Linked DNA regions of Homo sapiens: region 2 is linked to region 1. Evidence: promoter capture Hi-C in human tissues and cell types (Jung and others, 2019). All regions are on one chromosome and are shown on one strand. The core of a region is centred on a gene start or on the middle of the fragment in contact, and the rest is flanking DNA. Distances in the headings are between cores, read along the strand shown.

What was found. Contacts are between HindIII fragments. The study calls those that stand out against the background at their distance.
Region 2: a contact is called between a fragment that was not itself captured here and the fragment with the promoter of RAB4A in region 1, in 3 of the 25 tissues and cell types used here (dorsolateral prefrontal cortex, hippocampus and spleen).

What each region holds. Positions count from the first base shown.
Region 1 is chr1:229,267,313-229,273,473 of GRCh38, reverse strand. It overlaps RAB4A (RAB4A, member RAS oncogene family), which reads right to left and starts at 2,363. Exons shown (of 8, transcript NM_004578.4): 1 at 2,104-2,363. The coding sequence starts at 2,134. RAB4A-AS1 (RAB4A antisense RNA 1) reads left to right here and starts at 2,320. Exons shown (of 2, transcript NR_149313.1): 1 at 2,320-2,498. RefSeq lists silencers at 1,822-1,981, 2,022-2,551. The HindIII fragment of the contact is 8,116 bases long and covers 1-6,161 here.
Region 2 is chr1:228,835,792-228,842,138 of GRCh38, reverse strand. No RefSeq gene overlaps it. Among named protein-coding and RNA genes, the nearest start is that of RHOU, 100 kb to the right of the region's middle. The HindIII fragment of the contact is 4,581 bases long and covers 1,802-6,347 here.

The sequences.
Region 1 (6,161 bases), core at 1,114-3,613:
GCCATCACCTCTGGCCTCATTTTCTATTTATTAGTTTCTACTAGTTTTCGATTAATTTCCTCTATTAGAAGAAAAGATTCAATTCAGAGTTGCAAAGTAAAAACATACTTGGAAGTTACCATGAAATAAGAATACTAATGGTCAAAGCCTTATGATCAGAATGTAATCAATCTGTGAAGCTCAAAAGTTCAGTTAACTGTGTCTGAAGTGGAGATGCCAAAGATAAGCTCTATTTTATCAGTTGTTATCATGCGTATACGAAAAATGAAACATAAAAGCTCTATCTCCTGAACTCTTCCAATCCTTTCTTACTGATTCATGACCCCCACTTGCTTTTCTTATTTGGACATTCCACCCTTCCCCTAGTGCTCCGTGCTCCTTACTCAGGTTAAAGAAACTAAGCCTGGGCTAAAGAGCACTTGAAAATAAAGAAGTGCAAAGATGTAACCAAAAATTGCTAAAGACCATGTTTTCCTTACAACATTTCTGACTGTGGTTCTCTACAGGAAGAACCAGACCACTGCCATTTGCAGAAACATTTGCAAACACTTGTCCTGATGAAGGCATCGACTTACTGGAGGATTTCCTACGCCTTCTAGGAACAGATGTCATGCCCCTTTGTCACCAAGAACAGGGCAGTACCAGTCACAGGAGTCACTCACTGAAGGTGGACCAAATGCACTGTGACCCCAGCATGGAAGCCCTTCCAAAAGTTCCCATTTTTTCTTACAAGACAAACTGACGCCTTCCTCAAGACCCTCTCCTCTCTGCCTCCTCATCCACCTCTCCAGCGTGGTACTCAAAACACACCCTTCTTGAGTTACCCTTCCCACAGGCCTGAGATGTTCTGCGTGCTGCCTGGTTAATGCCTCCCTGACACCCCTGTCTGGGTCATCTTTCTTTCTAACACACTTTCACGGACCACACTCCTTCAGAACTCTTGCCTGGTTTTTAATTATTCACTCATTAGTATCACAATTGGATTAATACTGCATTCCCTCAATAGACTACGCTCCATGAGACCAGAGCCGTGTCTGCTGTGTTTCTGCAGGATGTACAGCCCTCCCAGCACGGTGCTCGCTTCCCTAATGCCATTCCACAGTATTTGTTGCAGAGAAGGAAGCAGCATGCCAGGACAGATGGAGACAGGACTAATTTGGCTTGAGGTATGTAATTTTGAACTTGAGCCTCTCTCTGGGACTGTAAAACTCCAAATCAAAGTCTTAATCTGAGAATACATACATCTGAAAGAGTGATTAGGGACTGGTAAACATCTATTAATATTCAACTCTGATACAAAGTACAAGTTGTTTATTCTTACCACGCAAGGCCAAAAAAGGGGAGAAAAAAAAAAAAGCACACAGCATATGCACTGGGAAAGCTTTCGCTTATTCAAAACAGTATTTGTCAAGCACCTCCAGGTCTGGGTGCTGCAGGGGAAACAAAGATTAAACAGCCAGGGCTTTGCTTCCAAGGTGCTTACGGTCTTAAGAAGGAGACAAGACATGTTTATAAATAGCCAAAATGCAACCCAGAAAAGGCTAAAAAACACTGAGAGGGAGGGAGAAATAAACGAAGCAAGAGGTCTCCGGAGGAAGAGATGAATGAATTAGCCTATTAATAACTCCTCACTGTAATCCCAATGTAAAGCAAGGAATTCCAAACCAGGAAAGGTCAAACTGAAGTATTTGAGGAACACAGGCGTCGCCCTAAGCCCTTCACAGGCTCGCTGGGGATAATATCGCAGCTGAAACCGAACATCAAGCTGGCTTTTCAAACCTTCAGTTATTTACATTAGACTGAGAGGGGAAAAGCGCTAAGAGTGCAAGAGCAGAGAAAGAGCAAGAGGAAACTTGAAAAGGCGGATCACGCCAATGCGCTGTGCACAGCGCCCCCGCGCCCCGCGCACCCGCTACCCCACCCGAGCCCCCAGCGGCCCGCGTCCCCCATCCCGGTCCCAAGCCCAGACACCTCCGAGATCCGTCCCCCGGCTCCGGCCGGCGCCACCGCCACCCTCAAGACCCCCGCAGCCCAGGCCCGGCCCCGCGCCACCGACGCCCCCCGCGGCCCGACCCGCGCGCCCCGCCAGCCCGGGCCTCGTACCGTAGGTTTCGGACATGGCCGTCTGCGACATCTTGGGAGCGGCGCCGCCTCTCGCCGGGTCACCGGCTGCACTCGCCCGCGGTCCGCCGGCGCGTCTCGGTGGGGAAGGACCTGGGGCGGGGGACCGGAGGAGGGAGGGGCCCGACCGGTCCCCACGGCAACCGCCGGTCTCCCAGCGGCTGCGGCCCAGCCGGACTCCAGCTCCGCGCAGGCGCAGGGCCCTCCACCCTCCGTCCGGCCGCGACCGCGAGGAGGAAGAGGAGATGGGCTACGCGAGGCCCGGCCCACCCCGCGTTCGCGCGTGCGCACGGGGAGGCCGGGGCGGGGCGCGTGAGGACTTCGGCGCGCGCCGGAAGCACGTGCGCGGGCTGGGCGCTCTGGCGGTGTGCGCTGAGGTGGGCAGAGCGGCAGGTGGGGGCGTTGGGGGCTGAGTCCCGATTTCCCTGAGGGAGGGTCGGGTAGAGGCGGGCGGTGGGCAGGTTTGGGGGTGACAGAGGGCTGGGGACAGTGGGGTCCAGTTGCCGGACAGAGGAGGAAGGTGCCCGCACTGGGGAGGAAAGCAGTCCATTTGCCAAATTGGCCCGTCTCAGTTAAGACGTTGTCTTCGGTCATCATCTGCGGCTGTCAGCCAGGAAAAAACTTCCCTGACGCTGTTACGATGGAGGCCAGAACTTGGTTAATGTGTAACAAGGAGGCAGTAGGCCCCAGGTGTCCAGCCAGAGGCCGCCCTGTGAATGGGAGGCAGGTTCATTTACCCGTTGGGAAGCTAAGCTTTCACTCCAAACTGCCGGGCCCTCTTGGATGGAGCTGAGCGGGTGTGGGCGGAATGACAGAAGCGCAAGATGCCCAGGTGCTAAAAGGTCATCGCAAGACTACAGGCTGCAGCCTCTCCACATCCCATTTTAGAGGGTTCTGGATTACGGTTGAGAAGTATCTCCCGGCCCTCAGCTGGGGATGTGTTTCCAAATTTAGGAGTTTTTTTAATTTTTATTTTTTAACAGGGTCTGGCACTGTCAGCCCAGCCCAACCGATTCTCCTGCCTCAGCCTCCTGAGTAGCTGGGGCTAGGGGCTCACACGACCACACCGCGCCAATTTTTAAATTTTTTGTAGAGATGGGGTCTTGTTATGTTGCCCAGGCTGGTCTTGAACTCCTGAGTTCAAGCATCCTCCCTCCTTGGCCTCCCAAATTGCTGGGATTACAGGCATGAGTCATCTCACCTGGCCTTGGATAGTTTGGTTTCAGAAGCAAAACTGAGTTAGAATCCCCTTCTGTGGGAAATGTAGAGATAAACATTTATGGGAAAGAGAATTTTGGTTGAGGATTTGGCCCATCTGAGCTTGATCAGGGCCACATAGCGCCTCATAGTTCCCAACCTTGTTCACAATAGGTAGTCGAATGCTCAAAATATCCTTGGCTAAGCTCCCAAGTGACCTGGACTGTGTGGAAAATGCCAGTACATACTTTTGTGTGTGTGTGTGTGAGTCAGTTTGGCTCCATCCTCCACATAAATTGGCATCAGAGCTTCCCTCTTCCCCAGTGGCTATTTGGGTCGGTATTTTTCTCTTGTCTCCGATCCTAATAACAAATAAATGCAGTTTTTTCTAAATCACAGAGAAGGCCCCATGGTGAAAAGTTGTGACAGCTGTAATTCCTAAAACTGTTTTATATATATTTCTTGTTCAGTGGCTCAGATCATTTGTTGCTTTCTTGTTTGTCTCTCTGCATGTCGTGTTTGATTTAGGCTCCTGAGTATAACAGATTGGTTCTGATTAAAACCATTTCAGAGGAAAGACAGTGATCCCAGGAAGCGGGAAGAAAACAGCATCACCTGAAGTTATTCCTATTCGTTAGATTTGTTTTCTTCCTGCGAAAAACTGCTATGTACAAGAAAGAAGTCAGTGAGCTGCAGTGATAGTTAGCATTATTGACTGAAACTGGACCAGAGATCCCTGAAACCTGGACAAGGTGGTAGAAATACAAATTATGCTGCCATTTCAAAGCTGTGGGCAGTTTTCTACTTTGTGGAAAATGAAGACTTAGGTAGGCCTTTGGGAAAGACGATTTGTTTTGGAAAAACCACCCAAAGGGATCATTTGGTTTGCAAATGTAACTGCAGTATCACAACTGGAAGAAGAAATATACAAGGGCGAGGTTTGAAGGAGCCCTTCAGTATCCTTGGATGATACTGTGGAAGATTCTTTGCATCTCAGTAACTTTGGATCTTTGAAGATCCAAGAAAATAAATTTCTTCAAAATATTTTTAGAGACTGCTTTGATTCTGAGGCACTGCTGATTATATGGAAGAAAAAAATATTGGAAGATTAATTTGTGGTTTTCTCCAGTTATCGTCTCCCTTCTCTTTGGGGGAGGTTTGTGACGCAGTAAAAACAGATATACAAAAGCCTAGGCATGTTAGAGATTTGCCTAAGGGAAATGTAATTATGAAGAAGGATTTTTTCAAGCTGAAACTAGATCCCACTTTTTTCCAGGTCAGTGGGTCCTTCAAGTATCTGGTACTTTCCTTCCTGCTTCCTGACAATGTTAAAGAATGTGGCATGACCTTACATTTAATGCCCAACGTGAGGAGCCCTGGGGCTTGATGCATGAGATTCTTGGAGCTAGGCCTGGTGGAGGGCACTGGTCACAGCCTCGGTGGAATGGTGACTTTCTTTGGTAACTGGAATTGAAGAAAATGAGTGGACTTGTGTCTGAGCACTTGGGAACTCAGCAATCCCTGGGTGTTACCTTGAGAAGGAGCCAAATTCCAGACATACAAGTGGAGACTTGAAAATGGAAGCTCAATTCCACACCCAGGCTGGTGGAGACTATGACATATAACTCACATCTTCAAGAAAGTAGACACCTCAGAGGTCACTGGGCCACTTTACCTTCCACTGTCAAAACTATGTCCATGATCAGATACCTCTGTTGCTAGGGAATATTCAGTCAGAATGGGCTAGATTAACTGCAGTAATGCAGATCTCTCAACCCATTTATGACTTACGCAGCAAAGTTCCTCGCTCAGACTACCTGTCCACTCCCACGAGCAGAGACTTGCTCATGGGCCCTCCTAGACCCAGGCTGACCGAGTGTGTTTTATCTAAATGCATCTCCACAATCACTCAGGTAGGAGTGGCTATGCATTAGGACTGATTGTGCATTAGTTAGAGAAGCACTTACCAGGAATTGCTATAAGAACTTCTATTTACATTTCATGGGCCAAAGCAAGTCATGTGGCAACACTTAATTTCAAAGAGGACAGGAAATGCAATATTGTTATGTCCCTGAAAGAAAGGAGAAGAGAAAGTCTATGGAAAGACATTATGACTACCACTGGAATTTTCACCTGTCCAGGCAGCTCATCGTGCTTTTATTTGAAACAATTTTATTGAAGTATAGGCATAACTGCACATACGTATGTATTTATTTTATTTTATTTTTTGAGATGTAGTCTTGCTTTGTTGCACAGGCTGGAATGCAGTGGCGTGATCTCAGCTCACTATGACCTCTGCCTCCCGGGTTCAAGTGATTCTCCTGCCTCAGACTTCTGAGTAGCTGGGATTACAGCCACGCGCCACCACACCTGGCTAATTTTTGTATTTTTAGTAGAGACGGGGTTTCGCCTTGTTGGCTGTGCTGGTCTCAAACTCCTGACCTCAGGTAATCCGCCTGCCTCAGCCTCCCAAAGTGCTGGGCAGCCTCCCAAAGTGCTGGGATTACAGGCGTGAGCCACCGCACCTGGCCTGCACATATTTAAAGTGTACATTTTGACAATTTTTAATATATATGTACGCTTGTGCTTGCTGCTCCAGGGGACCGCTATTTCTAGGCCTTTTCAGTGGACAGAGGCATTTTTGTGATTGTTTTATCTCATTTGTCACTTAGGAAGAATAACTTCTTGTGAGGTTTAGTGGTGGTTTTGGGGTTGATAGTATAGGTCTTCATCACAGTCCACCTCCAAGTGATAATACACTACTTTATACAGAGTATAAGAAACTGACAACCATTTGCTTCCATCCTCCCCCAGCATCTGTGCTGGGGATGTTGTACTTCTAC
Region 2 (6,347 bases), core at 2,843-5,342, 430 kb after region 1:
AGTGTTTGGCCAAAGGGGGCTTTCCAGCAGGGCTGTGTGAAAACCCAGACCTCTTATTAAGGAAAGATTTGGGGTGGGAAGAATAAGCTGGAAATGTGTTCATCTCTTATCCAATAAGTATTCATTGAGTGCCTACTGTAGGCTGGGATTCCAGGGGGTCAGTGACACAAAGAAATTGAGACCATCTGCTGTGGAATCTCGTGTTTCATTCACTCTTGCGGCCCTACAAGTGAAATGGTATCTGACACATGTAGGCACTCGGTAGGTCTCTATTGAATAAATGAATGACAGGCTTGGTTCCAACTTTTATGAAGCTCACAGTCTATGGAAGGCAAACATATAATCACACAATTAATTCACTCTAATGGTGATAGAATTATGAAGTGCAGGATGAGTTGCGATTATTTTGAAAAGCTTTAAAAGTTTTTTGCTTGAGTGATGTTTCTTTTGAGAGTCTTCTCAGTTTTGATATGAGACAAAAATCTTAAAAGTTAGCATAAGTCTTGGGTGGAATTGCAGCTATAGACAGACAATTCAGCATGCTATACTCTAATGTGAGGATAAATGCCTTTCAGTTTCTGTGAGAGAAAGAAAAAATAAACTCAGTTTCTCCTACTATTCTCTCATAACACAGGGTACTTCTGTGACCTCTGTCACCAATGTATGGGTATGTCCCCCCACCACGCAAGCAAGCAATTCTACAGATTTTCCAGTAGACACTAGCTGGACGTCCTTGAATTCAATTCATTTCTGTCACTACCTGCCTGAAGATAGCATCTGATCCCACGGGTTGAGGGCTCAGTCCCACAAGACCTCCACCACTTCTGATGCCAATCACAAGCCCCAGGTTATTTTACTTGTGGTTTCTGACTGGTTATAAATCTGGGTTCCTAAGACCCTGTCCTTGGGTTTAATTAATTTGCTAGAGCAGCTCACAGAACTCAGAGAGTCACGTAGCTGTGTTTACTGGTGTATTATAAAGGATATTATGTAGGATACAGATGAAGAGAGGCACAGGGCGAGGCATGTGGAAGGCGCTCAGACCTTCATGTCCTCTCCTTGTGTGCGAGTCTCTAGAAACCTCCATGAGTTCAGCTGCCTGGAAGTTCCCTGAACCCTGTACTTTGGGGTTTTATAGAGGCTTCATTATGTAGGCATGATTGATTAAATCATTGGCCATTGATGTTCAGCTCAACCTTCAGCCCCTCTTCCCTCCCCTGAGGTTAGGGGTGGGGGTGAAAGTTCCAACTTTATAATCACATGGTTGGTTCCCCTGGCCACCAACTCCCATCCCGAGGCTATCTAGGAGCCCAGCCAGAGTTGCCCGATTAGAACAAAAGATGCTACTAGCACTCCTATCTCTCAAGAAACTCCAAGGATTTTAAGAGCTCTGTGTCAGGAACTGAGGGCAGAGACCAATATGTGTACAGTCATATGCTAAATAATGGCATTTTAGCCAAGGATGGGCCATACATATGATGGTGATCTCAAAAGATTACAATGAATCTGAAAAATACCTATCCCTTAGCGATGCATGCCATGGTTGTCATAATGTCATAGTGCAATTACTTTATTTTTTAATAAATTTAGTGTAGCTAAAATAAATTTAGTGTACAGTAATGTAACATCCCAGGCCTTTCCATTCATTCACCGCTCACTCACTGGCTCACTCAGGGCAACTTCCAGTCCCACAGGCTCCATTCACGGTAACTACCCTAGACCGTGTACCTTTTTTCATCTTTTTTTTAATTTTTTTTTTTTTCAGACAGAGTCTCGCTCTGTGGCCCAGGCTGGAGTGCAGTGGTGCAGTGGCACAATCTCGGCTCACTGCAACCTCCACCTCCCAGGTTCAAATGATTCTCCTGCCTCAGCCTCCCGACTAGCTGGGATTACAGACACACACCACCACACCCAGCTAATTTTTCTACTTTTAGTAGAGATGGGGTTGCACCATGTTGGCCAGGCTGGTCTCAAACTGCTGACCACAAGTGATCCGCCCACCTTGGCCTCCCAAGTGCTGGGATTACAGGCGTGAGCCACCACGCCCAGCCCCATTTTTCATCTTTTCTAACCACATTTTTATGGTACCTTTTCTGTGTTTAGATATGTTTAGATTCACAAATACCACTGTGTTACGATTGCCTACAGTATTTGGTACAGGAGCAATAGGTTATCCCATATAGTATAGGTATGTAGTAGGTTATACCGTCTAGGTTTGTGTAAGTACTCTCTATGACGTTCAAACAACAATGAAATCACCTGATGCATTTCTCAGACTGCATCCCCATCATTAAGCAATGCGTGACTGTACTTCTTATTATTCCACAGTGGCAAAAATAAAGCAGAGCAAAACAAAACAGTGCGTGTGTGTGTGTGTGTGTGTATGCAAGTGTGTGCATCCAAGCCTCTGTGTCTGCACAGAGTAAGGGTCCGTGGCCCTCATCAATAGCATCTCATGGGCTTTGGATCAGGCATTTGTCATTTGTAATATGTCCCCTTCCATTCTAGTTCTTGCTCGGTAAACCAGTTCAAAAACGCTCATTTCTGCCTCATTCTTCATTCTCTAGCCCCATGCCTCTCCAGGATGGTCAGAGGCCACCTTAGATGGCCCCGGCCTGCCCTGTACTTAGCTTCCCTTCCTCTCACCCCATAAGCCCTCTGTGAAGAGCAGGCTCTCTCCCTCCGCTCCACTGCCCCAGCGTCTTAGCTGAGTTCATGACCATTTTCAAAAATAAACAACAAATATAGTGGGCTGTGGGGGAGACAACGCACTTTGGAGCAAGAGGATCATGAGTCATGGTTTGGCTATTTCTCTGAATTCTAGTCTTGATCAAGTTACTGAAGCTCCCTGTGCCTCACTTTTTTCATCTGTAAACTGGGACTGATGGTATGTATTATCTACCTGACGTGGTTGTTGAGGAGATAAGAGCAAATGGGAGCAGGCATACAAAAGCCCAGGAGTGACGGCAGATTGTGCTAGAGGGCTGGGACACAGCCACATGTCCCACAGGGCCCTGACCACAGCAGGGAATATAGACCCATGACCAGCCCCACACCCCAGAAGAAAGTCAGATGAAAACTGAGATCACTTATTTTCTAAGGTCCTTCTTTCCTTGGGGAGTGTCTATTTGCATGGCCAGTGTAAGAGTGAATGGATTCAAACAGGATAATGGGAACAACTGCGGAAGCTTGGTCCAAACAACTTGAGTTGACCTCCTTAAGTGTAGCCTCCTGTGGTGACAGCGCACAGGAAATGAGGGGAATTGTTGCCTCTTTGTCCAGTTAGAGCTGAGTTACAGCTCAGAGAACCCTTTAGAACCTTGGATGAAAGGAGCTAGACTTCTTTCTGCCCACGATTCTAGAACACCAACCCTGTGGACACACCTTTTTTAAAACCACCAAACAAAACCACATGGAGTGTTTATAACCAAGGAATAATGGCTCGGACCTCCCTTCCCTCAGATAGCAGGAGCTTCTTACGTAAGGGGCACTCGATTGTGTTCACAGAGCCAACAGCATGAGTCACTGACCCCTGAGGTCATTCTGGCTCTTTTCAAAGCAAACAGAGTCCTGTTTTATAGATACAGGTAAGAAGTGAAAGAAAAAAGAAAAAGACAAAAGTTAAGAATCTGAAGGCACCCAGTGAGCAGTGGGGACAAGCACCTTCTCTGTTCATTGCTGGAATCCTGGTCACCCTCGCAGAGGCAGCACATTAATGGTTCAAGGCCTTTGCACCAGTGTGTGATGTAATCGCCACAGCTCAGCAGATTGCTGAAGGAACCACCCAGCTGCTTCTTACAAGTACATACATATCCATGGTGAAAATGTTCTCTGTGCTTGTTCCCTGGGCACAATTCACAACAGAATTTAGAACTGTACTCAACATGCCTCCCTGCACTAAATATATGTCATTGCTAACGTGTGGCTCTGTCACAGAAGCCTCCGAGCTATTCAGAAACTCTCAGGAGGTCAGAAGGGCTACCTTTGTCCAGAGCTCTGGTTAAAGATTAACAGGCTGGAGTCTTTGGGCCTGGCAGGGCCTAATGTAGTCTGCTGTCACCTCTCCGGGGTGAAGGAGCTGTGCGGGGCAGGCCCAGTGCCCACCGGATGACAAGAACAAAAGCCACCACACCCAGAGGCAGGATCTAGCATCTTGACCCCAGCTCTCCCTGAACTTCTCGGGGCCTCTGTTTCCTCAGTTGTGACATAGTGGGGTTGGACCTGACTCCCAGGGTACATGACAGAGGAGGTTTGCAAGGGAGCTGGGCTGGGGTTTGGCCTGCTGCTGGGGCCCTGAGCCCTGACTGCCCCATGGAAGCACAGCAGTGCAGCCCACTTCTGCGTCTGTTGGGGCCTCCAGCTTTCCTCTTCAGGGTTGCTGAGGAAGTTCTGGCAAGTTCCATCCACAGGAAGGTGTGCTGGGGAGGGATAGCAAATGGCAGACGCAAACACTAAGCCACAGGAAGCTCCCCATGGGACCACCAGGTGAAAACTGAGCTTGGCCTTGCTCAGGGGAGCAACCTGACATGGGTTTTTTTTGTTTTTTTGGGGTTTTTTTTGAGACAGTCTTGCTCTGTCGCCCAGACTGGAGTGCAATGGCATGATCTTGGCTCACTGCAACCTCTGCCTCCTGGGTTCAAGCGATTCTCCTGCCTCAGCCTCCTGAGTAGCTGGGATTACAGGAGTGTGCCACAACTCCCCGCTAATTTTTGTATTTTTAGTAGGGACGGGATTTCACATGTTGCCCAGGCTGGTCTCAAATACCTGACCTCGTGATCCACCCACCTTGGACTTCCAAAGTGCTGAGTTTACAGGCATGAGCCACCACGCCCGGCCACCTGACATGGTTTTTATGTTCTGTGAGAAGTTTTGTTGTTTTCTTCTTTTTAACGAGAAGATTTATGAGAATTCCTGCATCTTAACATCTATCCTGACACCGAGATAGAAGGCATTCTGAAACTACACATAATCCAGAAATGTGAACTTCCACCTCGTACCCAGAGGCCTCGCCCAACATCAGGTGCTCTCAGGCTCCAGATCCATTTTCAGTCAGGAAAAGAAATGAAAATACAAAACCAAGCAATTGAGTGAGCCATCTCTTAAGGACTGAATTATCAGGCATCTATAATGCTCTTTACCCTTTTTTCTTTCCCAGTCAGCGATGCTGCTTACACTACACATAAGATAAATGCAGCCTGGAAATGCAGCCTTCCCATTTTTGTTCCAAGCAGGTGGAAGCTTCTCCCTGCTGCTGTGTGGTCCTGACACACATACCCCAGTTAAAAACAAATAAAAACAGAAATGGCCCCACCATCACTAAATAAAACACCATGTATCTCCTTTGGTCCAATCACCCCATCTCACGTGGCTGAGTGACGCTGGCAGAGCATGGACCCCTGGATGCTGGGTAACTGCAGCAGAGATTCTCTCCCTCTGTAAACAGGCTGCAACCCGAGGAATGAATGTGTGCCTTCTTCTAGGGCTGCTCCTACCCTTTGCTTGCACAGCCTCTCTCTGTGCTCTGGTTCATTACAATGCTGAAGTCACTCTGCTTATCAGGGACCTTTGAGCTGCAGAGCACTGGCAGAGGCTGTGAGGAGGGATAAAAGAAACAGAGGACTGTATTTCTGGCCCTGAGGAGTCTACCTTCTAAGGAAGAAGCAGGTAAAGTGCATATAAAAGATAATATGTTACTACATACATAAAGAAATGCAAACTCCTCTGCTGTGAACGATACTCTCAAGCCCTGGGGGCTATGGGATTAGTGAACATCGTCAACCAGGTAACTCAGGGAAAGCTTAGCCGGGTGGTGAATCCATCATTGATCCCACTAGCACAGATAGTCAGGTGCAGACATTCCAGTCAGTAAAGGCTTGCCCTCCAGTGTGCATGCTAGTGCAGGCATCCCAGGGTAGGAAACTGTAGGCAGGCTTGTTGCAGCAGTGTGGGAAAGAAACAGGGGTGAGCCACGCGGAAGGACTTACCCATGCAGAACATCAGCGCCCATTCACACATCTGTCCCTTTAACAAATGTGTATTGCCTGTTCTGACACTGACATGAGCATTCATTCATGCTGACAAATCTGGCTAATTATGATAGGCAATCAGCAACCAAGCAATGATACAGTCAGAGTAGCATTGGAAGAAGAGATTTTTGAGATGACATGAGGAAAGGCTTAGAGGATAAGAGAGGCTGGAAATGAAAACTCAGAAAATAACAAGACTTGAGTGGGTTTTATTTAGAAAAAATATTAATGACACAAAACTTACAGAATTTTGGCCTCATTGTTTTGTGGTCTTTTTAATCAGCTTAACATGTTAGAAATAGACACATAACATGCTACAAG